Regions from separate parts of the Homo sapiens genome. Here regions 2 and 3 are each linked to region 1. The links are contacts of gene promoters, found by promoter capture Hi-C in blood cells and fetal thymus (Javierre and others, 2016). All regions are on one chromosome and are shown on one strand. Each heading gives the region's core, a stretch centred on a gene start or on the middle of the fragment in contact. The rest is flanking DNA. Distances are from core to core; before and after follow the strand shown. Region 1 holds the start of MNDA (myeloid cell nuclear differentiation antigen). Region 2 overlaps SPTA1 (spectrin alpha, erythrocytic 1). Region 3 overlaps IFI16 (interferon gamma inducible protein 16).

The links. The method cuts DNA at HindIII sites, captures the fragments that hold promoters and counts their contacts. A CHiCAGO score of 5 or more calls a contact.
Region 2: a contact is called between a fragment that was not itself captured here and the fragment with the promoter of MNDA in region 1, in 1 of 17 cell types (M1 macrophages). The highest score is 6.6, in M1 macrophages.
Region 3: a fragment that was not itself captured here is called in contact with the fragment with the promoter of MNDA in region 1 in 1 of 17 cell types (neutrophils); the score reaches 6.4 in neutrophils.

What each region holds. Positions count from the first base shown.
Region 1 is chr1:158,829,889-158,832,672 of GRCh38, forward strand. It overlaps MNDA (myeloid cell nuclear differentiation antigen), which reads left to right and starts at 1,463. Exons shown (of 7, transcript NM_002432.3): 1 at 1,463-1,669. It also overlaps a transcript of OR6N1 not described here. The HindIII fragment of the contact is 3,002 bases long and covers 1-1,585 here.
Region 2 is chr1:158,643,731-158,646,514 of GRCh38, forward strand. It overlaps SPTA1 (spectrin alpha, erythrocytic 1), which reads right to left. Exons shown (of 52, transcript NM_003126.4): 28 at 1,765-1,864; 29 at 1,458-1,655; 30 at 523-666. Among named protein-coding and RNA genes, the nearest start is that of OR10Z1, 40 kb to the left of the region's middle. The HindIII fragment of the contact is 546 bases long and covers 997-1,542 here.
Region 3 is chr1:159,015,860-159,018,643 of GRCh38, forward strand. IFI16 (interferon gamma inducible protein 16) reads left to right here. Exons shown (of 12, transcript NM_001376587.1): 3 at 13-128; 4 at 674-841; 5 at 2,370-2,784. Among named protein-coding and RNA genes, the nearest start is that of IFI16, 7.3 kb to the left of the region's middle. RefSeq lists an enhancer at 1-357. The HindIII fragment of the contact is 2,618 bases long and covers 132-2,749 here.

The DNA of each region.
Region 1 (2,784 bases), core at 213-2,712:
AGCAGGCAAAGAGAGAGCTTGCTCAGGGCAACTCCCATTTTTTAAAAACTATTTTAAAACGATCAGATCTCATGAGACCCATTTACTATCATGAGAACAGCATGGGAAAGATCTGCCCCCATAATTCATTCATCTTCCACCAGGTCCCTTCCACAACACGTGGGAATTATGGGAGCTACAAGATGGGATTTGGGTGGGAACACAGAGCCAAACCATATCAGGGCAGAAAGCTGTCCTGAAACATGGTAACTCCTGTCGTGAGCTCTTTTGGTTCCCAAACACTGAAGTGGGGCACCTGATAAGGTTTCCTTGTGTTCCTCTTTACCCTTTACCTTAAGACCTGCTCGAAGCATCAGCATAAGAGAGAAACTGAAACAATGAACACCCACATGTGTTAGTGGCTGTCATTCTAGATCCTCTTGGTTTTTTCTGATTTACCCTGCTTTAGTGGGGTTTAGACAGTTTCCAAATCCAAACTTTAACTCTCTCTATGCTGCTGGTTTGGATTAAGACAATCAGCTTTATTCTTCTCTGTAGATGGCCTTGGATCATTTTCCCCTATTAGCTGTTTTGGGATCCTTTTCCAGTCATGACCACATTTTGCTTACAGATCAGCTAGTTGGTAACCACAGCACTGTCTGCTAACTGATACCATTCATTTGACAATTCAGAGTTATGATACTTTGTAGTGCACCCACTGTTCTTCACAGGAAAAAAAAATTGCAGTACAAAGGGTTTATCAGGCCCCCTATCATTCCAGAGTTTCAGTGCTGTTCCAGAATGTTCAAGGTTTCAGTCATGATATGAACCAACTATCCATAAATAATGCAAAAAGCATGAGTAATCATGAATTTAATAATCAAGGTAAGGCAGCTCAGTTATTATACTCAAGAGAGCAACTAGTATGAAACTCTTTCAAATTATTTGAATAAGGATTTACATATTCATAATGACTTTCTGCCTCTGTCAAGCTCCAGGTGTATCAGTTATTAATAACTGGGTGAATATGTAGGTACTATTTAAACAAAAACAATTTCACAGTAGACCCACCCCTATCCAAGAGATGAAGTCAAGTTCTGGTAGCAATAGACATCTCTACCAAGATCTCCTGCTCCTGCCACTCTGTGAACAGGAAAGGAGGGAGAAACTTTGGTGTTTTGCCTTTCCCAATTTATATTAAGATCCTTATTCAAGCGGCTACCGGTTTCTAATGACCTATATGTAAGTTAGCTTTATAAGAAAGTTCTGAGTTTGAAACTCCTTTCAGCAAGTATTTGTAAGTCAAAAAAGCGAAGAAGAGGCACCATTTACTGTCATTTCTCCTTGTGACTGAGATTACTTACTACAAAGAGGAACTGACCACTTTCTCTGACATCTGAAATAGAAAGCTACAAAGGCTGATAGGCGTGGCTTCAAAATTGTTTCATGATTACATAACTTCTTTCTAGTTAGGAATTAGGACAGTGTAAGAAGGCCATCTACAATCAAGATTGAGAGTGGCTCTAACAAGTGCCATTTTTCCTTGTTAGCTTTCATTTCTCAGCCCTTTACAAGATTAAAATAGTCTGCAGTTTAATCTCTCCAAAGCTTTACGGACAGTGATTCTGTCCTAAACAAGACAGTGACTCCAGGATTTCTGAAGACTATTGTGGAAGAAGCATCCATTAAGGTGAGATTTCTGGGAAGTTCTTTAGAGAAAGATCTAGGTATCTAGTTGGTAACCACACCATCTCAGTAGAGAATAATTGCCTGAGACCAGAAGTGTTGTTATCAATCATATTCAGAAAACTGAGAACTGAATGCTTTAACTGTCTAGGTAGCAAATGGATATCTTTTATTCTACCACAATTGGGGTATGAACCAAAAAAATGTATTTTGTCTACAGCAGGTTTTAAAAATTAATTCTTGGGTGTCTTTTGGCATAAATTGATATTTAGAGGAGATACTTGGTTTTCTTGGCTGGAGGATGACTTGGTGACTGGGTTTGGGCCTAAGTTAAAAGACAAGACAGTCAGATAAGAAAATTATTATGAAGTAATATTTAGTAAAAAATAAACCAGGATATAAATCTCTATTATATGATTTTATCTCTATTTTAAAAAGCATAGACATGTGCACACATTAATTTCTCAATTTTACAAGCATTTACTCAAAAATAATCTTTACATTTTCATGAATCAGTTTCATTTTATGCTTCATTTTACAACAAGTGTAAGAAGAAATAATTCTCTTTTTCAAATGGTCTATGCTTTACTCAGTCATAGATAACATTTTTTGTGGCAAGGTATAATGAAAAGACAGGGAGAATCAATTATATATTTCCTACTTTGGGATACATTTTGACTTTTTTATGGCTTTGTACATATGAATGTTTTCTAATTACTCCATGAGTACTTGAGAAGAGTTTATAAACGTTGGATTCCAAATTCTATTTAAGTAAGATAAAGTTTCTTAAGTAAGCTTGTTAATTATGTTTGAAAAATCTAAATCTAAATCTAAGCTATTTTTTACCTTGTTCTTTCAGTAACTGAGAGATGTGGTGAAATCTCCAACTCTAATAGTGATTTTGTTAATTTCTCATTGTAGTTCTTTTGATTTCTACCATATATTTTTACATAGAATATGTATATCTAAGTATATATGTTATGTGTGTGTTTAGAGAGAAGAAAAAACTTCTATATGCTACTTTATAAAGTAATAACAGATTATATTTATAATATAATTTAAATTATTATATCTTTTTCCAAGTTGCATACTTTACCATTATGTAGTGAAACTATGTAC
Region 2 (2,784 bases), core at 20-2,519, 190 kb before region 1:
AGTTTAGAATGCTGGATTTAAAGTAAGAGAGTCTGCTTGCTGCCTGTGACTTGGGTGAAACAATGTCAAGTGTCAAGCTGCCCTGCCTGCCTCAGTTTTTCTGTAAGAAGCAAACAAGAATCAGGGCTGGGCACGGTGGCTCACTCCTATAATCTCAGCACTTTGGGAGGCCGAGGTAGGTAGATCACTTGAGGTCAGGAGTTCGAGACCAGCCTGGCTAACATGGTGAAATCCTGTTTCTGCTAAAAGTACAAAAATTAGCTGGGCATGGTGGTGGGTGTCTGTAATCCCAGCTACTCAGGAGGCTGAGGTAGGAGAATCACTTGAACCCGGGAGGCAGAGGTTGCAGTCAGCCGAGATCACACCACTGCACTCCAGCCTGGGTGACAGAATGAGACTCCATCTCAAAAAAAAAAAAAGTAAATCAAAATGTTTATAAATTATAAAACCAGACAAATGTGTAGGATTTCTGTTATTATTACTACGGATTATTATTTTAATTCCTTTACTAGTCATTATTACCTGGGCAGTGATTGCTTTGTCCAAATCGTCCCGTTTCTTCATCAAAGCCTCCAGACTGTCTAAGGAACTTTTGTCATCTGACCTCAGGGAATTCTCACGTGCCACCATCCAGCTCTCAACTTGATCACAGTTCCCCTGGAACATCTATGAGGAATCAAATGAGAGGGGTATGGTATAGTCCATGTGGTGTGGAGGAAATGATGTTACACCTCTTTCAGGATCATGACACAAAGGGTTTTGCAAGGAGTACTTACCATCTTCCAAGAAACACTCATGTGACAAATCTTAGCTGTACTGGAACTTTTCCTCTTTTCCAAACATACACTTTATGTTTCTGTATATGCTACCTCCAATTCCTGGGGTGCTATTTCCTATTTCTTAAACCTTGTTAATACTGGCTGGTCATTTCCTTAAGACTTTGTGAAACGTTATCCTTCAGGGTAGCCTGTGACACAACCACTTACTTCCCCCAAAAGCTTTAATCACTTCTTGTTTTTTAGCCTCAAAGCACTCGTACATTTTGGTTTATTAATAATCATCTCACTGTACTAGTAAAATTTATCTATATGTCTAATTTCACTATTTAAGAAATGGGAAACTATCTTACTAATCTTTGTGGCACTCCGAGCCTCCACAGAGTAGAGTCTCAACAAAAATCAGCCAATCAATTCCTCAGTCAATCAACAAATGATAGTCAACCCACCTCATGCTCAGGACTGATCACCATCTTGTTTGGCTCTTCTAACAAGAAAGAGCAGAGAATATGACAATGATCGGTATAGAAAGCATAGTACAATGCTAGGTAATTAAGAGATGAGCTCCCTTTGTGTTTATAACGTGGAAAGTCTAGTGAACGGAGCCTGTAATGACCATATGAAATTGCATAGGAGAAACAGACTACTGAACCTGCTTAACAATTGGGAAATTTGCTGTACCTGCAACTCCAGGCACTGGTCTAGGATCTTCTTGCGTTTTTCCCAAGCCTTCTCCAAATCATCTCTCTCTAGCTTGACAGCTTGAAGCTTTTTTTCAATTTCAGGGCTAGCATGGTGCCCACTGTCGATAAGTTCTGCACTGAAGTCCTCTAAGGCCTGGAAGGTGGGAGCCTCTGCCTCCATGTCAGCACGGTGCTCCTGTGGGAAAAAGGGGGAAGAAATCAGTGAGGCCAACTCCATTGGAAATTTTAAAATTAGTAGAGGTTTCAGGTCAAGTGATCAGTGGCTGTGACTTTTGTAGTTTTACCTGATGTCTCTCCAGCAAGATCTCTATGCCAGTTAAGTCTTCGGCCAGCTCCTGTGATGATACCATGCCACCAATGCTACTGATCCAGTTCTGCAGATCCCTAGATAAACAGACACATTGGAATTGACAAGAAAACCTTGCAACTTGCTACAGTGCTGTTTGTCCTACAGTTTTCCATTCTCTAGAAAACATTTCCAGAATAACATTTTTTATCTGGCTTTATATGCTTTACAGATCTTACGTTTGCTGTTTTTATTATATCACCTAATGATAACAATCCCTTGTATTTGAAAGCCTCTTCACTTTTATTATCTTTTTCAATTCTTGCAGTAATCCTGCAGAGATTCCGGGAATTTTTTGTTTTCATTATGGAGATAAAGAAGTCACCTTAGAAAAGGTAATTAATCTGCCTATGTGGTATAACTAAAAGCAGACATCTTCAATAAAACCTAGACCTCTGGAATCCTGGACTGTTATATATTTCATTACTTCTGTTGGTTACTGTTCCTTTTAAGTGGTTTCTAGGGTTTGAAGATACATCTTATTACAGAGTCTCAAAGAAATCATGTCTTTCCTCTTACTTTTATTCTCAAGTGAATCTAGCACATATTTTGGCCAACATACACATACACACACAGGCCTCCACACTGTTGATTAAATCAAGGTCTATTTCCCTACCCTTTTAGTAGTCAGGAAGTTAGACGAGCAAAACTAAGGTCTATCTTCTTAAAAGGCAAATTTTAACTATGCATTAACTTTAAAGCATATATGGTGTATAAATTAAGCATCTCATAAAGAATGTCATTACTCTTGTTTGCTCAACAGGAACCCTTAGCTCTAGGAAAGAGAGGTCTCTTCTTTTGTAAATTTATTTATTCAAGCAACTAAGTTTTATTGGGTGCTTACTAAGTACCAAACATTGTGAAAAAGGCATATCTGTGCCTTCTAGGAACTCATACTTTAGGTTAAGAATGGATAAAAACAAAACAAAACAAAACAAAAAACAAACAAAAAACAGAG
Region 3 (2,784 bases), core at 191-2,690, 190 kb after region 1:
AATCTATTCCAGTAAAAGGACCAGCCCTATCAAGAAAGAGGAAGAAGGAAGTGGATGCTACTTCACCTGCACCCTCCACAAGCAGCACTGTCAAAACTGAAGGAGCAGAGGCAACTCCTGGAGCTCAGGTAAGCTTCAGGAAGAGGAGCAGGCTTCAAGTCCCACAGAGGAAGCTCTGCTACGGCTCTTCCACTCAATCTCTCCAGCAGGCAGTTATTTCTTCATGTTTCCCATCAAGTTTCAGATTTACCAAATTGTATGATAATTGATCATCTTATTGATGCTCAAAGCAATGCACCAAACACATGAGTAAACATAATGTAAATATATATAACATAAATGTGATACCTTCATTCTAGTAGAGTGGAGTGTCAACGTGAGAATCAGGTAAGTACTTTGTCCATGTGTATAAAAACCTAGTTTCTCTAATCCCAAGTCAGCACATCCCATAACAGAAATAATTAGAGAAATAATGTGTATAACATTCTCCTCTTTCTTCGTTTAATGAAACCATCTATGCCCATCTCTTAAACTGGCGAGAGATGGGCAGCAACCTCTCAAGTTTCCAAGAAACATCTTCTTAGGAATAATAAAACTACTATCCAATAATGAAAATGTGCTCTACTTCATTTGGCACTGAAAACGAATAACAGGAAAATCAAACCACTTTCAGAAAAGAAAAAAATCAACCAAAGAAAAGGCTGGACCCAAAGGGAGTAAGGTGTCCGAGGAACAGACTCAGCCTCCCTCTCCTGCAGGAGCCGGCATGTCCACAGCCATGGGCCGTTCCCCATCTCCCAAGACCTCATTGTCAGCTCCACCCAACAGTTCTTCAACTGAGGTACACTCTTCCTGGTCCCATTTTGCTTTGTTTTTTTCAACCCAAAGTAAAGGACTGATTTCACCGGTTACTTAAAAATTGCATCGATAATTTGCTAGTTAATCCAATGTACATATTGAGAAACCACTACATTTTGATCTTTTGCTTTCACAGGGATACTTGATGAACTTGACATTATCTCTGACTGCAGGAAGTTTTCTGTTCTGTGTTGTTTGGGGAAGGGAGAGAGAGCTATGCAGTACAGAACTGTCAGCTGTGGGCTCACTGTCTACTGCTCCCATGTCCTTCATACCTCTTCCCTTGGTTCACTATAGTATTCCATGTCAGACCTCTCCAGCACCTGCTAGTTTGTGAATGAGGTTATCCATACCCTCAGCTCTTTTTCTTGTAGATTAAACAACCTCCCCTGCATTAAAACTGTTCTATCGCAGTTTAAGGAGACTGGGATGTTAAAGAGTAAAGATGTTAAAGAAAACCCTTTCTGAGCCCCAGGTTTCTGTTAGCATGCTACCTGCTAGAGCCCTGACACTGAGAAAGGCTATGGTGGTGGGAATGACACTCTGTAGAGTTTCTGCAGCCTGAACCTACTGAGATGATGGCATTCTGAGGGGTTTATCCTACTTGTGTTCTCACCTGCTGTAAGCAAACTGAATCTTGGGTAGGAACACTATGAAATGTGCTCTTTAAATTGCCCTGTCTACACTGGTGATAACTGAACACTCTTTGTGTCTATAGTTTGTGGTGGGCACCATTTTTCATTTTTTTTTTATTTTTATTTTTTTTTAGTATTTATTGATCATTTTAAATGTCATTTAACTTTGTCTATTTTTAGGCTCTGGCACTTTAAGCTGGTAAGAGAAATAGTATAAGAAATTATTTCATTCTAAAATTTATTTATTTATTTATTGTTGTTGTTGTTGTTGTTGAGACAGAGTCTCGCTCTGTCACCCAGGCTGAAGTGCCGTGGCATAATCTCGGCTCACTGCAGCCTCCACCTCCCGGGTTCAAGTGATTCTCCTGCCTCAGCCTCCCAGGTAGCTGGGATTACAAGCGCCTGCCACTACACTCAGCTGATTTTTGTACTTTTAGTAGTGCCAGGGTTTCACCATGTTGGCCAGGCTGGTCTCAAACTCCTGATCTCAGGTGATCCACCCGCCTCGGCGTTTCAAAGTGCTGAGATTACAGGTGTGAGCCACCGCGCCTGGCCCTAAAATTTATTAAGTTACTTCATGACACTGGCTTTCAGTATCCACTGGTCTTATGTTGCTCTTATGCTTTATTTCTTAAGGTTGATTCTGTTTACAGAAAGGTCATCTTTTCACTATATGGTCTCCTCTGTTACTTCATCTTGCTATTGTACCAGTTTAAGATATCTTCTGCCCTGGCTCGCAATCCCTCTCTATCCTGACTCCAGCTCTAAACATCTGTGCAAGTTTTGGGGCCCTGTGTTATACTGAGGTCACTGAATAGCAGTTCTGTATTTCTCAATTAGACATTTTTCTTTGTTCTCCTGTGCTATCATACACAGAACCCGAAAACAGTGGCCAAATGTCAGGTAACTCCCAGAAGAAATGTTCTCCAAAAACGCCCAGTGATAGTGAAGGTACTGAGTACAACAAAGCCATTTGAATATGAGACCCCAGAAATGGAGAAAAAAATAATGTTTCATGCTACAGTGGCTACACAGACACAGTTCTTCCATGTGAAGGTTTTAAACACCAGCTTGAAGGAGAAATTCAATGGAAAGAAAATCATCATCATATCAGATTATTTGGAATATGATAGTCTCCTAGAGGTCAATGAAGAATCTACTGTATCTGAAGCTGGTCCTAACCAAACGTTTGAGGTTCCAAATAAAATCATCAACAGAGCAAAGGAAACTCTGAAGATTGATATTCTTCACAAACAAGCTTCAGGAAATATTGTATATGGGGTATTTATGC